Regions from separate parts of the Homo sapiens genome. Here region 1 is linked to region 2. Evidence: promoter capture Hi-C in human tissues and cell types (Jung and others, 2019). All regions are on one chromosome and are shown on one strand. Each heading gives the region's core, a stretch centred on a gene start or on the middle of the fragment in contact. The rest is flanking DNA. Distances are from core to core; before and after follow the strand shown.

Region 1 (2,700 bases), core at 138-2,637, 45 kb after region 2:
AAAAATAAAAATAAAAAATAAAAAACACTTTTTAAAATGAAACAAGGAATGAAAAGGGAGTTTGGAACCTGTTGCAGTTTGTGAATCCCTGCTTTCATTTTATGAGCTGAATAAATTATGGCCCAGGACAAAGAGTTCCCATGATTTTTTTACACAGTATTTTAAAAACATAATTATCTCACATTTCAGAGTTGTTTGAAAGAAAATGAGAGAAACCTTACATCCAAGTTCTATAGGATTTCTTTATTACTTCGTCAATCAATGATTACAGAATGATGTAAGATCAAAGAAAATATCTAGCTTTCTCACTATCAGCTTTTAATCTGAATAAGCTAAACAGGACTGAGAGAAAGCACATGATTTCTGCCAGAATGGATAGGCTTTCATTGCTAATTTCAACTATGGACTTGTCTCAGTTTAACCTTTTGAATAATTCCTCCGCAAATCTAGTTTCACATCCTTGGTCATTTGAGAAAAAGACAAATCAGGAACTGAAGAAATTCAGAAACAAATTTTGACCCCTATCCAGCTTTCTTGTTGAATTATCTTTTTAATTCTAAGGCAGTATACTTCTATAATGAATAAACTTTTCCCAACAAAAATGAATAACCAGCCATTACCAGCTATTAAAATAGTTATTTTTACATGCTGAAAGTGACAAGTTTTATATATTACTTTGAGTTTGTTTGGAGGCAAAAAAAAAAAAAGCAGCAGCAGGAGAGGGGTAGGAGGGATCACTGTTGATCTTTGCAAAATCGTGTTAAAGTGGAAGATGATGATGATGGGGTCAGACCAGTAAAAAGGTCTGGGTACAGATCCAACTTGTTAAAAGTTGCCTGGGGAAGAAGGCTATAAAAAGATAAAACTCTTTTAACAACTATTCCAGAGTGATGTGTTATTAGATACTTGGAAAAGTTGCAAAGATCCATTAATGAGGCAGCTTTGTTTTATATGGCTGAAAAGCTGATGTCAGTTCTTGAACCCATCATTTCAAATAATTGATCAGTGGTCTCTGTGATATTCTCAAAGGTATATCCTAACTCAAGAAACATGAAGGTGGTTTTCAGAAAAACCTCTTTGTTAGAGTTGGACTTGGTTTCTCCTTATTTTCCTGGTGTTATGGTTTTCTATTGCACCATGACAATAGTGAAGACACAGAGGAAGGGTCTGAGCCAGAAGACATGAGCAGGGAACTGGACAAAGTCCAAGGCTGGCTAGGGCAATAGGATCTTATTTGGGAGTCTGTTCACTATCGTACTGAGTTATTTGTTCTTTTATCTTATTCTATTGTCAAGATCAGGCAACTGGTTAATTTTGCTACCCCACTTCTCTTTGATAACTACCCCAAAACTTAGCAATTCAGAACAACAACCGTTTTATCATATCTCACCATGTTGAAGGTCAGGAATTTGGGCAATTCTTCTGCTCCTTGTCACGTCACCTGGGGTTGGTGGACTTCAGCTGACTCTGAGCTTGTGTCAGAGGTCCAACACTCACATGCCTGGCACCTTGGCAGGGACAGCTGGATGTCTGAGCTCAGCAGAGCCCATCTCCCCCTCCATGTAGTCTCAGGGTCCTCTCTGTTTTTGCTCCAGCAGGCTCAAGGCTCCTTTCAGAGGCCAGACCTGGAACTGCAAAACATCATTCTAGCCACACTCAATTGATCAAAGTAGTCACAGGCCAGCTCAATTTAAGAACTCAACTGAAGAAGTGGTAAAGCATTTGCAGCTGTCTTTTAATTCACCACACCTGATTCTCTTCTAAATTGGAATTGGCCAAGCAGTTGCAGTGGCTCAGCCTTAGGAGGCCGAAGCAGGAGGATGGCTTGAAGTCAGGAATTCAAGACTACCCTGGGCAACATAGCGAGATCCTTGTCTCTACAAAAAATATTTTTAAAAATTAGCCTGTCATGGTGGTGGGCACCAATAGTCCCAGCTACTAGGGAGCCTGAGATAGGAGGATCCCTTAAGGGAGTACAGGTTCTGGAGGCTACAGCTATGATTGTGCCACTGCACTTCAGCCTGGATGACAGAGTAAGACCCTATCTCTAAAAAAGAATTCTTCCTGCTAGCATTTAGCTTCCAAACCTCCATATGGTATGAGAGATATAAATCATTAACAACCATTACAAATGATCAAGTTTGCTGTTAATTAAAGATGTGCAGAGGTAAAGATAGGGGCGGCACTGTACCTTATGGAAGTGGTAAATAAGAATAAATAATAAATTCTAACACAGGCAAGCATTCATTAACAGGCACTTGGTAGAAACTTCTTTCTTAAGGCACTTCAGCCACCTATTTATTCCCTGATCCAGTAATCCCACTCAAGATAATTAATCCAGAAAAATCATTCAGAAAGAGAAAAAAAATTATGTGTACAAACAAGCTTATAGGCGTCTTATTCACAGCTGTGAAACACTAGAAATGATGTGAACATAGAAAAAAAATTCAAGTAAATTATATCAAAATCTTGTTATACTGTGTAGCCATTAAATTGATAAGGGCCACGCCCGTGTAGAAACATAGGAGAGTATTTTTAATGTAAATAAAGCTAAAATTTAAAAATTGTGAGTCATATGATTATAGTCTATTCAAACTATGCCTGTGAGAATCAAAACAAGAAAAGAATAAAAAAATAGATTTTGTTGAAGTGGTATCTTTTTAATTTGTTTTATTTTATAATGTTTTAAAGTTCTTTCAA
Region 2 (2,700 bases), core at 197-2,696:
TGGCTGATTCTCCCTCCTAGAGAAGCTGTAAGATTAGTGAACAGGGTAATATCTAGTCTAACCCTACTAGATGACTATTAAGGCCTCTTTCAATGGTGGTTTTCTGTAGATCTCTTTGATGGTTTTACAAAATGGTCCCTAAATTCTTTGACACTCCTCACACTAAGGGTTGGGCTCTATATACCCTCACCTTCAATCTGGGATTTGTGACTGCTTGACTAATAGAATCAAGCAGAAATGACACGGTGCCAGTTTCTGGGCCCAGCCCTTAAGAAACTGGCAGCTTCCACTTTCTGTCTCTGGGGACATTCACTCTTGGATCCCCGCCACCATGCTGTGAGGAAGCCCAAACCACAAGTCTCCACAAGTCTTTGTGGAGAGACGCACGTGGAGAAAAACTAACACTCAACACCAAGCAAGTGAACTGTCTTGGAAGTGGATCCTCCAGCCCCTGCTACATGGAGCAAAAACGAGCTGTCCCAGACAGGCTCTGCCCAAACTGCAGACTGATAAGCAGAGTAAATGAGTGTTGTTATTTTAAGCCACTACGTTTTATAGTAATTTGTTTAGCTGCAGCAGATAGCCGGAACAGCATGGGATATAACATGACCAGTGCTCCAACCTCACACTTCTACCATGTGCTGACTCTAGCAGTGCACTGAAGGACTCCAAGGCAGGCCTTCCCTGAGGAGACCCCAGTTTTTACTCACATGTCACAGGCAGTGGCCTTTGTCCCTCATCTCCTCTCCCACCCCCAATTTAGGATAAAGTATCTGCCGTGATAAAGACGTTGAGACCCACTTTCTGTAAGGTCGGCTTCTTCATTGTTTGAATTTCTTGAGGTTTCACGGAGCCACGCGCTGGAACCTTCCATAGTCTCTCCTGAGGCTCCTTCTTTGCCCTGGGCTGGAGGTCTGTAGCCGTGGGATGCTGGCTACAAGGGACAAGATAGAAGCAAACCACCTGATCCAGTAAACTGCTGTCCACTTCGGCTCCTCAACGGCCTCTAAGCTTAAGAGGGAGCACGCAAGCCAAGCAAAGGCGGCAGGGAAGACGGAGAAGAAACCACCCGTGGGCCCTGGCTCTGTGTCCAGTTGTTCCGTCACAGATCAAATCTGCCTGCACTAAGAGGATGGGTTCCTCTGCAAGGCCTTTCGGAATTCTGAGTCTTGTCTGTCAAACTCTACCCTCTCTCCTCCACATCCCCCACCTTTTCTTTCAGGAAGGAAATAGTTAAAAAAGACTCCTGCCCTTCAGGGCCTGGAAGGGGGCGGCAGCTTTGTGCTTTTTAGTGGCCGCGTCCCAGGATAGCTGGAAGGTTAGGACGCTCTTGCGGTCCCAGAGTGGAGTGGAAGGTCTGGAGCTTTGGGAGGAGACGGGGAGGACAGACTGGAGGCGTGTTCCTCCGGAGTTTTCTTTTTCGTGCGAGCCCTCGCGCGCGCGTACAGTCATCCCGCTGGTCTGACGATTGTGGAGAGGCGGTGGAGAGGCTTCATCCATCCCACCCGGTCGTCGCCGGGGATTGGGGTCCCAGCGAGACCTCCCCGGGAGAAGCAGTGCCCAGGAGGTTTTCTGAAGCCGGGGAAGCTGTGCAGCCGAAGCCGCCGCCGCGCCGGAGCCCGGGACACCGGCCACCCTCCGCGCCACCCACCCTCGCCGGCTCCGGCTTCCTCTGGCCCAGGCGCCGCGCGGACCCGGCAGCTGTCTGCGCACGCCGAGCTCCACGGTCGGTGCAAGTCTTTCTTATCGGGGACTGGGACTGGGGCGGGTGCGGGGATGGCGGAGACGCTGCCTGGGCCCCTCGGTCGGGAGAAGACGAGAGCTGGGAACGTTCTGGCCCGACCGCCCTGCAGCTTGGGCGACCCGTCGCAGCAGGGGCTGGCACCCACTTGCCCCAGGGCGCGCGGGGAGGCGGGCGCCTTCCGTGAGGGGTGCGCTGCGGACACGTGTAGAGTTCGGGGAACTTCACCTCTCCACGTTAGGGTTTAGGATTCGGAGTTTTAGGAAGAGGAAGCCCAATAGTTTTCCCTGGGTGACCCCTTTTCCCCAGGCATGCAAGAACTTTGAGGAACGCCAAGCTCTGTGGCTTGCTCCAGCGCCTTCTTGTGAAGTTGGCTCCACAGCCTTTTCTTACTGGCTTGCTTTTCCTCCCCCACATCTGGGTCTGGGTATGCCAAGGGTAGCCAAGGGCACTCGGTGTGAGGGACTGAGGTGTTTGGGGAAACCCCCTGTGTAGCTAGTTTTGGAAACCTGCCTGTGGAGGTCTGGGCGTTTTGTTCTGTGCTCGCCTTTAAAGGACACTTGTTGCTTCTCACGTGCAGAAAACAAGGGCTGCTTCTAGATAATCACCCTCTGTTTACATCATCCTAATGGCTTTCCCCTGATAGAGTTGGGGGTGGGAGGCATATTAAACTCAGGCGTTGTCTCTAAGGAGAGTTGCTCATTTCTTAACCAGAGAGCAAAACCTCAGAAAACTTGTAAAAAGTTCCTACTTTTACTTGTTTTTTCCTCCACCTGTAGTTGTCTATGTGTTAGCTAATTGAGAAACACCTTGGCAGTCATTTCATGTAAATTGAATGCTCTAAACTCATGCCATTTTGATAAGGTCTGAATTTCCAAATTACCAATTACAGGTGAACTTTGATCCTGAGAGTCTCATATGTTAAATGGTTAAAGTGTAAGCGTAAGGATTCAGTCCTC

Evidence for each region. The method cuts DNA at HindIII sites, captures the fragments that hold promoters and counts their contacts. A contact is called where the count stands out against the background at its distance.
Region 1: a contact is called between a fragment that was not itself captured here and the fragment with the promoter of EDNRA in region 2, in 1 of the 25 tissues and cell types used here (hippocampus).

The regions. Positions count from the first base shown.
Region 1 is chr4:147,524,902-147,527,601 of GRCh38, forward strand. All of the region lies in intron 3 of EDNRA (endothelin receptor type A), which reads left to right. It overlaps LOC124900795 (a long non-coding RNA gene), which reads right to left. Exons shown (of 2, transcript XR_007058311.1): 2 at 229-1,631. Among named protein-coding and RNA genes, the nearest start is that of LINC02507, 43 kb to the right of the region's middle. The HindIII fragment of the contact is 3,028 bases long and covers 1-2,700 here.
Region 2 is chr4:147,479,651-147,482,350 of GRCh38, forward strand. It overlaps EDNRA (endothelin receptor type A), which reads left to right and starts at 1,447. Exons shown (of 8, transcript NM_001957.4): 1 at 1,447-1,726. RefSeq lists enhancers at 2,137-2,236, 2,267-2,346. The HindIII fragment of the contact is 3,954 bases long and covers 1-2,700 here.